Linked DNA regions of Homo sapiens: region 2 is linked to region 1. Evidence: promoter capture Hi-C in 16 types of primary human blood cells and fetal thymus (Javierre and others, 2016). All regions are on one chromosome and are shown on one strand. Each heading gives the region's core, a stretch centred on a gene start or on the middle of the fragment in contact. The rest is flanking DNA. Distances are from core to core; before and after follow the strand shown. Region 1 holds the start of ELOVL4 (ELOVL fatty acid elongase 4). Region 2 overlaps BCKDHB (branched chain keto acid dehydrogenase E1 subunit beta).

Region 1 (7,897 bases), core at 1,561-4,060:
AAGACTGGAACTAATAGTAGTTAGTGTTATCAACAATTTTCTCCATTTTCTCTAAGTAGCATCCATGTAGCAAAATTTACTTCTAGAAGATTCAAAGTCTTTCTCTACAACTCTTTAATTAGGTTATTTCTTTTTACTCCTGACTCAACAGGCTTCCAGGTTCACTTTTCTTTGAAAGCAGAGGTTGCTGACAATATTACCAACATGGAAAGGTGGACTAGGAAAAAAAAGATGGATAGCTTGATTTATGTTGCTAACCTTGTATGGACTGTAGGACATTTAAAAATATTTTGTACTGGGTGTGGTGGCTCACTCCTGTAATCCCAGTGGTTTTGAAGGCCAAGGCAGGAGGATTGCTTGCAGGCAGGAATTTGAGACCAGCCGGGGCAACACAGCCAGTCCTCCTTCTCTATCAGCTATTTAGGAGGCTGAGGCAGGAGGATGAGGCAGGAGGATAGCTCGAGCCCAGGAATTCGATGTTGCACTAACCTATGATTACACCACTGCAATCCAGCCTAGCTGATAGAGTGAGACCCTGTTTCTAAAAAGAAAAAAATATTGCTATTTTATACAAAAAAATTTATGATAAAATGTCCTCTCCTTTAGGTTTTGTAGGTAACTGTATCCTATTTGCATTTGATCCACATGAAAGAACTCTGTTCTCAAAGTTTGCAGATGCTGTTGTTGCTTGTATTTGCTTTTACTCTGTTATGATGCTACCAAGATTTTGGTTAGATGGCTGTTATTCTAGGTGGCAGACATGCGGGTTTCCCTCCCTTTGCACAACTAAACAAGGTAGGCTTTGGTTCTGGGCAGTCACTGGTATTTACAAACCACTTATTCATGCCAGGTAATAGGGTTCCAGATTGGGTAAGTTTTATGTTCTGGTTCTTGGTATATGTTTAGACAGCTTATAAATGTAAATAAACATTCTACTCTTACAGGTGGAGTGTGGACACGGTGATATCCGTGTGACCGCCATTCCCAGCTGAAGGTTATCTCATCTATGATTTTCTTATACGTGACTGGCACCCCCTAGTGAATAGGGACTTAAGTTGACCTCCACGGTAGAAGAAATACCAGGGAAATACCTGAAGCTGTTTTAACAATTTCTCCTTGTATTAAGTATTATGCTGCAGTTTTGCGTGTGTGAATGGAAGTATGGGTAGAGATCTGTTCTCCCTAAAAACTCCAGGATTCCACAATATAGAAATAGTAATCAAATTTTTAGGTGAAGCTCGAACTAATCCGAACTTTGTTAGATCATCACTGTAAATGAATGGGTATTTATCCACTCCCTAAATGAAGAGACTTGACTGGATTTCTTTTTTTTATATAGCTACTAGAATCTGTTACACATAATTTAGGATTGAGACTTGAGAAATTGTCATTCCAATCCAGAAAACTTTAGATTTGCAAATATATTTGACAAATTAATAAATTAACATTTTATTTGGTTAATTTCAAGAATAGGGCATTTAAAGAAGTCTGTGTTTGCTTTAGTTCGGCAATAAAGTTCCTGCCACTCACAATAATCCTTATTATTCTCTGAAAGACATGTTATATTTTTGTCATCATAAATATTTATTAATTACTGTTTATAGCACTGGGTTAGGTACTCATCAAGCAACCAAAAATAATTCTTACCATCTAGGATGCTTCCAATATAAAATATAGACAATATATAACCAGGTCAATTGGGAAATAGATCATTTCAGTATGATAAAAGATAGTATTCACATTAACAGTGTGAAAGGGCAGGAACAATAAGACACTTGACTCACTGGTCTTTAAAATGTAGCATCCAAAATGAGCAAGTGGAGAAAAGGTTAAACAAGTAGGTGACACATTTAAAAAACAAGTAGATGAAAGGACTATTCTCAAAAATCTTGTTTTATGTGAGAAACCATCAAATTATGAATTCCAAGTACTGTATTTTTTTTACTTTTCAAGGGTAGGCTCTCCTATACCTTATCTAAACAATTTTTCAAAATAGCCACAATTACTTTGTTTTCCTCTCTACACTAAATTGCCCTTTGCCTCTTGAGCGATTATCTTTTTCAGATTCACCTCAACTTCTTCAGGTTCAAGCGGACTTCACCTGTAAGCCCCTCTCGGTTCTCCCTCTTCTCTGAACTACTAATGGCCTAATTTAGCACAATTATATTGCTTTGTTCATTCCATGTATAGTAAAAGAGTCTACAAAACACATGCAAGCATTCATGCAATTATATGTTGATTTGTTCATGGGTCGACCCCAAAGTCTATTCTCCATCGCTGAAGCATGGAAGACAAATACCCTTCACTTCTTCAGAGGCATAACACATGCACTTCTCTTGTCATGGTGACAGGCATGTGCTGGTGGAGGTCAAAGAAACAGGAACACAAGTGAAATCGAGGTGAGTGTCAGGTAAGGACCAAAGCACCACGCCTACCTCATCTTTGCCCACAGAACACCCATTCTTCCCGTGTCCTGTTTCCCAGGACGTATCCGGGGCGGATAAGAAATCACCCGTGGGGAGGCGGTGAACTCCTCCGCAGGGGCCGATGCCCGGGACAGGGGCGGGGAAGGCTAATGAGGCGACTTGTGCGGGGAGGGGCCAAGGAGGAGCCCAGGTGTCCCGCTCCCGCTCGACGGCGCGCGCCTGCGCGAGCCCAGTTGGCGTCGCACCCTTGAGCGCAGCATCCCTACGCCAGCGAGTCCCAATACTAGGGAGGGAGGGAGGGAGGAGGGGCGGCCGGCCCCCCGCCCCCGCGCGCGGCCACGTGACGCCGGCTGAGGAGATTGGAGGGGCGGCTGCGCGAGGCTGCAGACTGGTGCAGCGCACTGTGCTGGCGGCTGGGCCTCCTCCACCTCCTCGTCTTTCTCCCGGGAACCTTGACGACGCCTTCCGCTTGGCCCTGCCTTCTGCCGCATCCCCGCCGCCGCGGCGCCTTGAGGAGCAGGAGAAGACGCAGCCGGGCCGCCGCCGTTAGAGGGGTTCCCGGCCGCCGCTCGCCCCGTCGGCCGCCACCGCCTCCGGGGTCAGCCCTCTCTCTGGGTCTCCGCTTTCTCCTGCCGCCAGCGCCCGCTCATCGCCGCGATGGGGCTCCTGGACTCGGAGCCGGGTAGTGTCCTAAACGTAGTGTCCACGGCACTCAACGACACGGTAGAGTTCTACCGCTGGACCTGGTCCATCGCAGGTAAAGCCGCTGACTTCCCCATCCTCGCTCGGTCCCCCGCGGGGGGTCACCGGCCCCTGGTCTCGCAGCTCCCGGGCCCGGCCCCACAGGCCCCCGCGCCCTGCGGCTTTCGGATGCTGCGGATCAGCGGAGGGGCCGGCGCGGGCACTGCGGTTGAGCACTGGTTAATCTGATCCGAATGTTAAGGCCTCCCCTCCCCCGACACTCGCAGGGTTTTCTTCTGAGCTCCCTCCATCTCTCATCAGCTCTCGGATGCGGGAGCTGACATATCAGATGGAGCCTGTGCAGCCAGGAGCTCCTCGCAGGAGCCGCCCCACCCTGTGCTCCCACATCTCCCGAGCTCGCCTCCCTCTTCCCCGTGCACAGGATTCCTTTTAACATTTAGTCCTATTTTGTATGGAGAGCGGGCTGGGGAGGAAGGAGGGCTTCAGGGGCAGCTGAAGGTACAGGAGGTTTCTTCAGCCTCCTGGTCGCTTTGACAGAACCCTGCTAATCTTTTCTTCTATCTAGCTCCTTCATCTATAGTATAATTCGGACTGAAAAGTAAAATAATATTGTTTGGCTCCTTGAACCTTGAAGAATGTTAGTTTCCGAGGCATTTTCAACAGCAAATATGTTTGAAGTGATTGTCTATAATGGCTTTGCGCACTGCAGTGCAGTCAGGGGGAGGGGGAGGCCAAAACACCGGGGAAGAAATCAGTCTTTAGGAAGGGGGTCTCTACAGCAACACCTAGAGGTTGTCCCAGATGCCTACATATATACAGTTCTTAAATCAGCAAACTTTTCTTTAGCTGTTGCAGTTAATTTGGCAGGGCTGTCAATTGTTTGATTTATGCAGCTTTCCTAGCGTCCAACTGTGATATTATATTTTTACATTGTACTGTTTATTTCTTCATTTGCTTCGCTGCTTTTGATTTTAAAGCATTTAAAAGTCTTTGAAATCTAAAATAAGGTTTAAAGGATTTCAGAAATGATTTTACGAGGTCAATTTTTCTGGTCCTTTTGCAGTATCACACTGCATCCTATCAGTGAAGGATATTAACGTTCCATCTTATGACTCTGCCTTCCCTACTTCGAAATGAAAATGTACTCCTGTAGTTTTTGTGTTCATTGTTGTTAGAGGAAATTAGACAGTGGTTACAGCATGAATGTAGTCCGATACATAGGGCTTATGTTTTGGGAAAAACGTATGCTGGAATTATTTTTGTGAGAGACAAAATGATTATTTGGCATTAATACTGCATTCACTTCTTTAGAAAAGTATGTTCTTTTTCAGAAGATCTCAACTTTGACACTGGGAAATAAGCTATTTAATAAGCCATTACAGCTGAAAATGGTTAAAAGGCAGTTTTCAATGGAGTGTTTCTTCAGTTTTTTTTTTTGTTTCTATGCGCTATTACACTGATGTTACACTGTACCTGCAAAAACTGGGAAAGATGTGCCCTTCCCTTCACGTCTGTGATTTCGGTTCTTTAAACGTTGCATCAGGGCTTCCCATTACACAATTGTATAGAGCTGAACATCAGACAAGTTCTTTAGCAGGTAATTGCACTTCGCACACCTAGGAGTCAGACACTGTTGAGATACTCCAGTCTCCATATAGCCAGAGCCACACCCAGGAGTTCTCGGTCCTGTCATTCCTATCCTATCCCGGAGCTTTCCCATCTCTTGAGTCTCAGAAGGAAAAATTGAGGGCAAAGGTAGAATACACCTTTCTGTGATGGTGAATTCCTTCCTGATGATGTTTGTGTAAAAGAAACCACACACACACAAATGAAACAGGAAATTTTGTGCAGTTGCCGCATGTGAAAGCTTGCTACTAGGCTTCGAAGGGCATATAAAATAATATAATATTGTGGGCCAAGCCTGAGAAGTGAGAGTAGCCTTAGAACACAAGTGACCTCTCACTAGCAGGCCGAAGGAAGGTATTTGCCTATGCTTTGACTATCCACTTACGAAACCTGAGACTGCTTCCTTGCTTTCTGTAATGAGCTACCTTATGTAGGCAGATGGTATTTCTTAACCAACAGAGAGGCTTAGTGGATATAGTCTGTTCTGCTGTACTGCTGTGTGAGGAGGAGTATTTTTCAGGTCCAGGCCGAATAGACCTGAAGTCTGTGGTGTCCCATTTACGTTTACTCTCCCTCATTCTATGCCCCTCGTGTTCCTTTTTTTTTTTTTTTTTTTTTTTTGGACTCATTCACTCTGCTCTGATTCCACCTCTCAGCATAATTTGATGAAAATCTGGGTGGGGGATATCAAAATAGAAAAGTAGCTTATAAGATGAGGTTAAACAAAAGTTGGTGAGTCAAATGTTTGGAAAGAAGGGGAAACAGAAATGGGCGGGATAGAAAGATGGTCTTGAGAAATAGTGATGAGTGTGGTGAAAGGATGCAAATTATTGAGGGAGAGCAAGAAATGAGGTAGGCTCCTTGTCCTTGGCTGCTCTCATTCCTAGTGCTGTAGTTACATGCTTCTTTCATTCTTTTATTAATTCATTAAATGCCATTTTGTGCTATTATATCAAATGGTGCTTTAAATATCCAAACATATCCAAAGCAATGTCTGAAAACTGGGCTTTTCAGAGGCACATATGTAGCAAATACAAAATATGGTCCATAATAATGTTAACAACAAAAATGTTACTTTTACTACAGTATTAACACTTTGTACATTGGAATTGAAAGTTTGAAAGAGCTATACTTTTAGAAAAACAACAAAAATAATTTTTATTTCTCTGTATTTGTAGACATTTTGAACGAGGAAATTAGCGTTGGTTTATGTTAAAGTATAGGCTGGTGTAGGACTTTATACTAGTTGTTAGTATTAGAGTAGGTATTCCATGTCATCATGTTAGTTTTTTTCTTCTATTCTTTCACTTCATGAGTACATTTAAATTATTAGGATTGGAGTCCTAGGCTCAACGTATACATCTAATAAAAGTTGTATATACATTTTTTAAACTGATGAATCTAAATATTCCCCAATCTATGAATACCCAACTTATCTACATTATTCATTTATTCATGCTTTTAATAAATGTTTAATAGCTTTTTTGCATACCTGACATTTAGCATATAAACACCCTAGAGAGTTAGTAGGATGCTTACGGTAAAGCCAGGTGTCTCCTGTGAGGCCATGTATCTTCTGACCATTTGTTTCTAAATAGCTGTTGTTCACAGGGTATGGGTGCTGTCTGTTGGTTGGGGGTGGTAATGATTGGCATTGGCCCTCTTTTCGCAGATATAGTACCCTGCATTTTGGTGAAAAAAATTGTCTACTTGGTAGTTGCAGTTAGAACATAACTTGCTGGGTCCTTGAATTAACTTTGGAGGGGTCAGAAAGAAGGGATGAGTGGTACAGGAAGAGGGAGGAGAGCTGTAGGATGACGAAATGTGGAAGCCAGGCTTATGATACCATTTCTTTCCGTATTTACTTGCCATGTACAGGCACAGTTCTAGGCTCTGGAAAGGAAAGGAGGACACTTGGTCACTGCCCTCATGCATCTTGCAAAGTCTAGGGGGTCACTGTCATTCCCCTTTCCTTGATATCATGGTCTGGAGGCAGTGTGATCTGTCAGACTCAGGACTAGCTGGGGCCTAGGGAAGATCAGAAAAGTCCTTCCCTGCTCTTCTCATCTCTACTTCTCCTAAGTGAAAGGAATATACAGTTGTTTTTAGAATATTTTAGCTGTTTCACCACAGTTTACTTCCCTCTACCCTTGAATGAGGAGTTGATGTGAGTACTGTCAGAGTATTTGGAGAGGCATACTAGGGCAAAAGGTGTCAAAGGCAAGGGGAACAGCTTGACTGAAAACCATGGAAACTGGGAAGGTGCTTAAGGGTCAGGCCAGTGAGTCATCCAGGTTTGATGAAGCTGGGGGCTAGTGGGAGGGGATGTTTAACTCAGCTCAAATAAGCTGAAGTAAAAGCAGGTTTGTCTTAGGGATTGCTAGGTCCCAGAGGAGCATGTATTTTAAGTATTGTACAGTATGCTTACATTAATTTTATTATTCGTCACAGTTAATGTTTAGTTTTTCATCTATGTTATTATCTAAAATAGGTTTATTTGTTTGGCTAAGCCTGGTAATGCAGTTTTCTTTGAATGTTTCTTTGAGAAAAGACATTCTGATTCCAAGTTGTAGGCAGCTAATTAAAAAAAAAAAAGAAAGAAAGAAACATCACCAGCTCCTAACATGGGATCTCCCTTGGTCACTGTTTTCAGTGACGTCCTAATTATCCTTTACTCATAAGCTCCTTGAAGCCTCTGGGATGTCCATGCCATTTTATGGTTTTTTGTTTTGGTTTGGTTTTTATTGTCTTTTCCTTCACCACAGTTTGATTTTTGGTGGTAGACTGCTAGACTTTAATAGCTAATGCTCTTATCCATTCCCCAATGATAGCATAAAGTAAAACATCCTATTGCAGATGGAATTCCAGGAGGGTAAACAATGCAGGTTCTAAAACGGGTGTCAGGACACAGTTTTAACTATTTTAACTTAGATTCTTTGGCTTAGGAAGACAAAGTTTTAAGAATTATGCAGATAATTATATCAGATGGCACTTTTGTAAACTTAAGAGCCACAGAGCACTTGGTCATCCTTTAAAAATTCAATTTGTTTTCTTATTTTTTTGCTCAAGTCCTGTGGATAATGTCACCTGTAAATGCTTTAACATTATTAACGTAAGTATTTTCATTTGTTAAGCCACTTATT
Region 2 (7,897 bases), core at 4,353-6,852, 180 kb before region 1:
AGCCATATTTAAAAAGTCATTATCAAATCCAATTTCACGAAGCTTTTCCCCTACATTTTCTTCTAAGAGTTTTATAGTTTTACATTTAAGTCTGTGATCTATTTTGAGTTCATTTTTGTATATGGTGTTAAATAAAGGTCCAAATTCATTCTTTTGCATGTGAATATCCAGTTTTCCCAGCATCATTTGTTGAAAAGACTGTCCTTTCCCCTGTTGAATGGTATTGGCATCATTGTCAAAAATTAATGACTAGATATTCAAGGGTTTATTTCTGGGTTCTCTATTCTATTCCATTCATCAATGTTTGTCTTTTTGCCACTGTCACACCGTTTTGATAACTACAGCTTTGCAGTAAGTTTTGAAAAAAAGAACTGTGAGTCCTCCAACTTTGTTCTTCTGAATTAAAAAAGCAGTGACACTACCAAATATTTGCACATCAGTATTTATAGCAGTCTTAGGACACAATAGGCAAAAGGCAGAAGCAACCCAAACATCCATCAACAAATGAATGGATAAACAAAATGTAGTATATGCATACAACACAATATTATGCAGCCTTAAAAAGGGAGGAAACTTTGACACATGCTGAAACATCAATAAACCTTGAGGACATTATTATAAATGAATAAGGCAGTCACAAAAGGACAAATACTAAATGATTCCACTCACATAAGGAACAGTCAAATTCATAGAGATAGAAAGTAGAATGGGTTCTTGCCAGGGACTGTTGGAGAGAAAATGGGGAGTTATTGTTAGATGGTTATAGTGTTTCAGTTTTGTAAGATGAAAAAAGTTCTGGTGATGGATGGTGGTAATAATTGCACCACAACGTGAATGTACTTAATAACACTGAACTGTAAAAATGGTTAAAACAGTAAATGTTATATATATTTGACCATAATTTTTAGAAATAAATTAATGTTTGTGAAAAAAGCACTGTGGGGAAAAAAAGGCATATTAAACATGTTCATCTAGTTCTGCCAACATGTGCACCTTTGGAAAACAAAAGAACTTTGTAATATCAAGAGCAATTTAAAGCTACTAACAATCCTTTAAAAATATTTTTAATAAATATATTAGGAAACCAGATTTACACCAACTTATTAATACCTGTTTTCACTCCAAATTCCTGTTAGACATCTCACAATCTATATCTGGTATTCAATCTGCTTGTATGTCATAAATATGTATACTTCAATAGGGGAAATAAATCCTCTACATATTCAATTTCCCTAAGGAATTTTCCTGAATTTTATCCTGTTTTTTTCTTCCATAAAATTAGTTTCAACAACCCAGAAACCAAACCCCCATCTCACAGATTGCCATTCTACAATGGAACCCTGACACTAAATCCAAGAGTATGAGTATCACCCAAATAACCCGTTCTTTGCAACAAGAACATATAATGGAAGATCACTTTCTCTGTTAAAGACATTAATTTCATAATTCACAAAAAATATATAAGAGAGCAAAGATTTTGCTAACACCCCTAAATTTAAAACTTATGCTGGAAAAGCAGCCAAGTGTGGTGGCTCACACCTATAATCCCAGCACTTTGGGAGGCCAAGGCTGGCGGATCACTTGAGGTCAGGAGGTCGAGACCAGCCTGGCCAACATGATGAAACCCCATCTCTACTAAAAATACAAAAATCAGCCAGGCATAGTGGTGTATGCCTATTATCCCAGCTACTCAGAGGCTGAGGCACAAGAATCACTTGAACCTGGGGAATGGAAGTTGCAGTGAGCTGAGATCTCGCCACTGCACTCCAGCCTGGGTGACAGAGTGAGACTCCAACTCAAATAAATAAATAAATAAATAAATAAAATAAAACAAAACGCTGGAAAAGGGACATCTTAAGAAAAAATTAAATTAAATGCCTAAGGTACCCCATGGTTCCAAAATGCTATAACAACTATATTCAAAAAAACCTCTAAATGTAAAGGGAATCAAAGCATGAAAAAACTGTGTTCCTCTTTTTAAAAACAAATAAAACCATAAAGCTTACCTAAATGTATGCTCTGGAAGAATCCCAGAGGACCACCTAGTCCTTTCCCTTCAATTTACTGATGAGGATACTGAGGCCCAAAGTCAACTCCCAAATATTGATATATTATAGACAAAAACTTGCCTTCACCGCATGCCTGTCCTAGTTTTCCAACCTGACTTCAGTGTATTAAAGTATCTGGTTATACAATTTCAGTGATGTTTACATAAGAAAACAAGTAAGTGGTTATATTAGTTTTCCCAAGCTGCTATGACAGGCCACACCTGTGGTGTAAAGGAATGGATACAGTAATGGAAAAACATCAAGTCCCATGAAAAGGCACATGTTTAGGCCTGTAGACTAATTCAGGAGGTCCTCAGCTATTCCTTTCCTCACCTAAATTTCCTCCAATAAGTGGGCCAAATATACACTAAGAACCACAACCAGGCAAGTTATATCAGTATAGAATAATGTTACAAACATACCTTAAACCTGACACACCAAAATCTTATTTTAATAACACACACACACACATACACTCTTTCTCTTTCTCTCTCTCTCAGAGAATGACAATACGAATGGATTTTTTATATGCCATGAGGAATCTGTCTCATTACTTATATGAATGAAAGCATGTGTGACACCAGGCACAGTGGCTCACGCCTGTAATCCCAGCACTTTGGGAGGCCAAGGGAGGCAGATCACCTGAGGTCAGGAGTTCGAGACCAGCCTAGCCAACATGATGAAACCCCGTCTCTACTAAAAATACAAAAATTAGCCAGGTGTGGTGGTGGGCACCTGTAGTCCCAGCTACTTGGGAGGCTGAGGCAGGAGAATTGCTTGAACCTGGGAGAGAGAGGTTACAGTGAGCCGTGATCGCATTACTGCACTCCAGCCTGGGTGACAGAGCAAGACTCTGTCTTAAAAAAAAAAGAAAGAAAGAAAGCATGTGTGGCATTCAACATAAAATCACACATACCCTACAAATCAACTACCTTTAACTGCCCTCTCCCACTCCCTGCTTCCCCAGAGGTCCAGCTGTTGCTCCTAATCAATACATCTCATTACGTACAGTGGTTAAAGCTGCCATTTGGAATGCAATGTTGATGAGGACATACTATTTTCTTTCTTCTAATTTTCAAAGCACTCATACTATTTTGTTCTATCAAAGGACAAGGAAGAGAAGCAGTTTAGTGGTACTAAATCCACACTCATCTGGATCGTCTGGAATACAAAATGCTCTATGCCTCTCTTCCTTTTCTTATAGCATTGCCTCTAATTATGCAATTCCTTCTTTGTCATATCAAGTAGTATTCAGCTTTACAACGTATGTCAGTAACCCACAATCCTTCAAATTCCGCCTTCTGATGGAATATAAAATGCTTTGCAGCAGTTCAAGTGCTGGCACAATGCCAACAGGGATGTTCTCATTTCAAAGGGTAGGCTGCCACCTGCTGACTTGATCCTTTCCCACTCAACATTCAGCACTCCCCAGAAAGCGAACTGATCTGGCACAAGGGTTTTCTTTGCTATGTCATTTAATGCAGTGTGACTTGATTGTTATATTGAACTATATCAACATAATCTTTTAGTTATTTTAAATACAAATTATCCTTTAAAAATCCTAAGCAGACAGTTATGCTTCTGTATAGCTAAAAATTCCTGCCCTATATTCAAAAGGGCAGATAATTTTTTAAGTATATGTTACTTTTTAAATATGCAAGAAAAATGTATTTTAATATATTTCTCTTCACCCTTTCCTTTATTCTTCACTTCTGAAAACAGAAGCTCACTTACTCTCATTAGAAAGTATCAGCGATTTAATTTTTCATCTTGATCAACATCCTCAACCTGAAATTAATAAAGTGTAACTTCACTGCCCTAAAACTATTGTAAAAATTCACAGCAGCTGCTGACAATAAAGCTAAAAGAGTTACTTAGCCATTAGTTAGCTCAGCCTCCTGCCATGACAGGAAACATAAATTTGCAGGTACCCTCTAAGAGCACTGGACTTTTTCAAGTTAAGAGTTAGTTTCTCCCCATTTTAACCTATTTTTTAAGGAAAATAAAATCAGACCAACCTAAATAATTAATGTGAGAGAGGGAAATCCCCTTCCTGAGACAGTAGGACACTGTCTAAGTGAGAGCAAAGGGTAAATTCACTCAACAGCACGCACTTCATAAATACTGCCTGATACAATATTAGGTCCTAGGGATCCATTCTGTGGAACAGCTTAAAGATCTGCTGCCTTTGACAACTTTCTGGTGGGAGTTATGGATTACAGTACAACTTTCAAGATTTAAAAGGTGCAGCGTGAATAGTGATAAAGAACTGCCTGAGTCTGCTTGGAGGGTCCGGAAGAGTTTCACAGGGGAATCTTCTGAAGAAGAAATAGGAGTCTACCAGGTAATCAGACAGGGTAGAGAGACCCAGATAGCAAGTGCAAAGGAAGAGAGAAGAAAAAACAACAGGGGGCTTAAGAGAAACAACCAGTAACTCAACATTAGTTTTAATAAAAATTTTAAAAAGCTCAAGTTCCTAGGTCTGTAGAGTAAAAACTAAAAAATAGATAAAATAAATAAAATAAAAATAAAAGCAGATGAGGTCAGGTAGCTACCTAAGTAGTTCTCAAAGTCTTTGGTAGCCAGGCGCAGTGGCTCATGCCTGTAATCCCAGCACTTAGGGAGGCCGAGGCAGGTGGATCACAAGGTCAGGAGTTTGAGACCAGCCTGACCAACACAGTGAAATTCCATCTCTACTAAAAATACAAAAATTAGCAGGGCATGGTGGTATGCGGCTGTAGTCCCAGCTACTCAGGAGGCTGAGGCAGGAGAATCACTTGAACCCAGGAAGCAGAGGCTGCAGTGAGCCAAGATCGCACCACTGCACTCCAGCCTGGGCGATAGAGCGAGACTCCATCTCAAAAAAAAAAAAAAGTATTTTGTATGTCCTGCTAAGAAATATGCATGTTAAAATCATCACACTGGCAACAAGATAGGGAATGGATTGGAGGGAGGGTAAGACTAAAGGAGTGGTGACTGCTAAGAAAAGAAATAAAACTCTGCAGGCAGAGAAAAATGAAAGATCTTAAGTATCAGGGCAGTAAGAATGGAAAGGAGGGGCCAGATTAGATATAATTATACAACTTCACTGGATGTGGGGAACTAGAAAGAAGGAAGACACTTAGAATTTCCCCAGTGTCTGGCTTAGGTAACTAAATGGATGGTGATATATTCACCAAAATAGGAAATGCACTAGGAGGCATATATTTGCTGGGTGCATGTAGCAGCCTTAGGTGTGGAAATGCTGAGTTTGAAGTGACTGTGGAACACTGAGGTGAAGATGTGCAGTAGAAACTGAATACACAGATCTGAAGCTCAGAACGGAAGTCTGAACTAGAGACAGAAATTCAGGAGTCACCAGTGTATGAGCAGCAGATGGCATCGATAAAATGCCCCAGACAGAAGGGGTAAGCAGAGTGTTATGGATGAGAACCTGGGCAGACAGGCAGCAGAGGACTCAACAGCCTACACAAACCCCTAGATTTTTTGGGAGGAATAAATGAAGCAGTACATGTAATACACTCAGAACAGTACCTGACGCAGTGAGTTGAATAAATATTAGCTATTCAGAAAGCACATGGCATGCTACTACACTGAGTCAGGCAAGATGGAATTGTGAGGTCTAGACACTGCTCCACAGCATAGTTATACTGGATACAGAGAAGACTCAGTTACAGAAGTATAATTCTGTGTTTGAAATATTAGTTAATATATACAAACATATTCAAATACAGTCTAGAAGTATATATACCAAGACGTGTACAGTGGTTATCTCCAAGTTATCTCTGAAAACATGAGCAATTTTTATTTTCTTTATGCTTTTCTATATTTTCCAAATTTTCTACAATGTATATGCATTACTTTTGAAATCAAATGTGTAAAGATTTTTAACTGTTTATTAAAGATCTAAAAGTTTGTAGCAGGAGTCTAAATGATCAGGAAAAATAATCTTTTGCCCAACTACCTCAAGCTCTAAGCAGGTATTAGAAGTAGGAGAAAGCAGACGGACTGGATCCAGAAACTCAACCTGCTATAAATGGAAAAGAAAAGACTAAGCTGGAAGTTCCCAATAAGTGAGATGGAACATGTATGGGTTCTTGGATTTAAGTATAACATAACCTCAGAAAGAGTGGAACAGAAAAAGAGACAACAATTTAAAAAAAAATTTTAAAGACCCTCACTCCTCTTGCCCCGTATGAATACACAAGCAATATAGAGCAATGCCAAAGGAAAGAAGAGAGGGAGATATCAGCTCCTGCCAGCCCTCACGTGAACTGCTTTGCTGAATTCTAAATCAGGTAAGACTAAGACAAAAAATAAAATGTCAAAAGCATTTCAAAGGTATCCCTAACAATAGGAGGTCAAAACACATTCCTTACACTGCAAGTCAGAAGAGTGGGAATTCAAAGATGGACCAAAATGCATTCTGATTATTTTAACTGAGTCAAATGAAATTAATAAAAGCAATGGGCAGAAATCAATCACATGCCAATTAAAGACATCAGCTGGGATAAAACATGTAAGAAGGATAATGTGATGGTTCATTATATGTCAACTTGACCAGGCTATGGCACCCAATTATTAATATTTGGTCAAACACAGGTGTAGAAGTTGTTGTGAAGGTATTTTTTAGATGTGATTAGCGTTTAAATCAGTAGATTTTGAATAAAGCAGATTACCTTTTATAATGTGGGTAGGCTTCATACAATCAATTTAAGGCCTTAAGAGAAAAGACTGCAGGTTCCCGAGCAAAAAGAAATTCAGCCTCAAGGCTAAAACAGAAACCCTGCCTGAGTTTCAAGTCAACCAGTTTGCCCTATGGACTTGCCAGCCAGTTCCTTAAAACTAAACTCACATGAGCCAGTTCCTTAAAAACTAAATCCCTCTCCCTCTCTCTCTCTCTCTCTTCCCGAAAAGATAAAGTTTGCTAATAAAGACCCAACAGGCAGAATCTCCAACTGGAGGCAATGGAATTGAAATTGGCTCAGGCAGCTAGCAATAAAACACCAAAGGTTCTTGGACAGAAGAATGACACAATAAATAATATACATTTAATGACAATTATTTTGGAATCATTTACACTGTATGTGTAATATGAACTAGATCAGAGGGATACTAGAAGACATTTGAGAAAATATAGGCCAAAGGATTCTGCGGGTGGCGTTGGAAATGAAAAGGAATTCATCCATACAATGGGGATATGACAAAAAATTTAGTAGGCATATTTTGTATTTTTAAGATCTTTTAGTAAAAGTTCTATCAGAATACTATTCATATAGGTATTTACTTACCATATTTGTCTCGCAAGCCAACAGTGCATCTAAAGACTCCACCAAAGGCAACATCTTCACCAAATATTACTGAAAAACAGTATTTAAATAATACATTTTATTTAATAATCTCTAAATAATACTAACAATGAGAAATAAGTAATTTAAATGTTTACATTTTAAATCACAAAAGATAAATGGACCATAGATCTCGATCAAGGTTTCTCAACTTCTACATTATTGACATTTTAGACTAGATGATTCTTTTGTTGTGAGGGTCTGTCCTGTGCACTGTAGATACATAGCAGCAACCCTGGTCTCTACCCACTGGATGACAGTTACCACACACACACACACACACACACACACACACACACAGTTGAGACAACAAAAAGTGTCTTCACTTACATTGTTAAATGTAAACAGAGTTGTGGGAGTGGAGACTAAGATCATCCCCAGTTGAGAAAGAACCACTGATCTAGAATCTCATTTGTTTTATCCATGAAGAAAACGAGACCAGAGAAGTGGTAAATTGACTGGCCAAGTCAGAAAGCTAGAGGCAGAACTATGACTCATGCT

The links. Contacts are between HindIII fragments. The CHiCAGO score rates a contact against its expected background, and 5 or more counts as called.
Region 2: a fragment that was not itself captured here is called in contact with the fragment with the promoter of ELOVL4 in region 1 in 1 of 17 cell types (fetal thymus); the score reaches 5.4 in fetal thymus.

The regions. Positions count from the first base shown.
Region 1 is chr6:79,942,466-79,950,362 of GRCh38, reverse strand. ELOVL4 (ELOVL fatty acid elongase 4) reads left to right here and starts at 2,810. Exons shown (of 6, transcript NM_022726.4): 1 at 2,810-3,183. The coding sequence starts at 3,084. LOC124901350 reads left to right here and starts at 730. Exons shown (of 2, transcript XM_047419628.1): 1 at 730-795; 2 at 2,352-2,976. The coding sequence starts at 2,548. The coding sequence ends at 2,976. It overlaps LOC124901351 (a long non-coding RNA gene), which reads right to left and starts at 2,558. Exons shown (of 3, transcript XR_007059656.1): 1 at 2,436-2,558. RefSeq lists a silencer at 2,701-2,750. The HindIII fragment of the contact is 8,446 bases long and covers 1-4,997 here.
Region 2 is chr6:80,128,672-80,136,568 of GRCh38, reverse strand. BCKDHB (branched chain keto acid dehydrogenase E1 subunit beta) reads right to left here. Exons shown (of 10, transcript NM_183050.4): 3 at 7,340-7,408. Among named protein-coding and RNA genes, the nearest start is that of BCKDHB, 26 kb to the right of the region's middle. The HindIII fragment of the contact is 7,198 bases long and covers 2,004-7,897 here.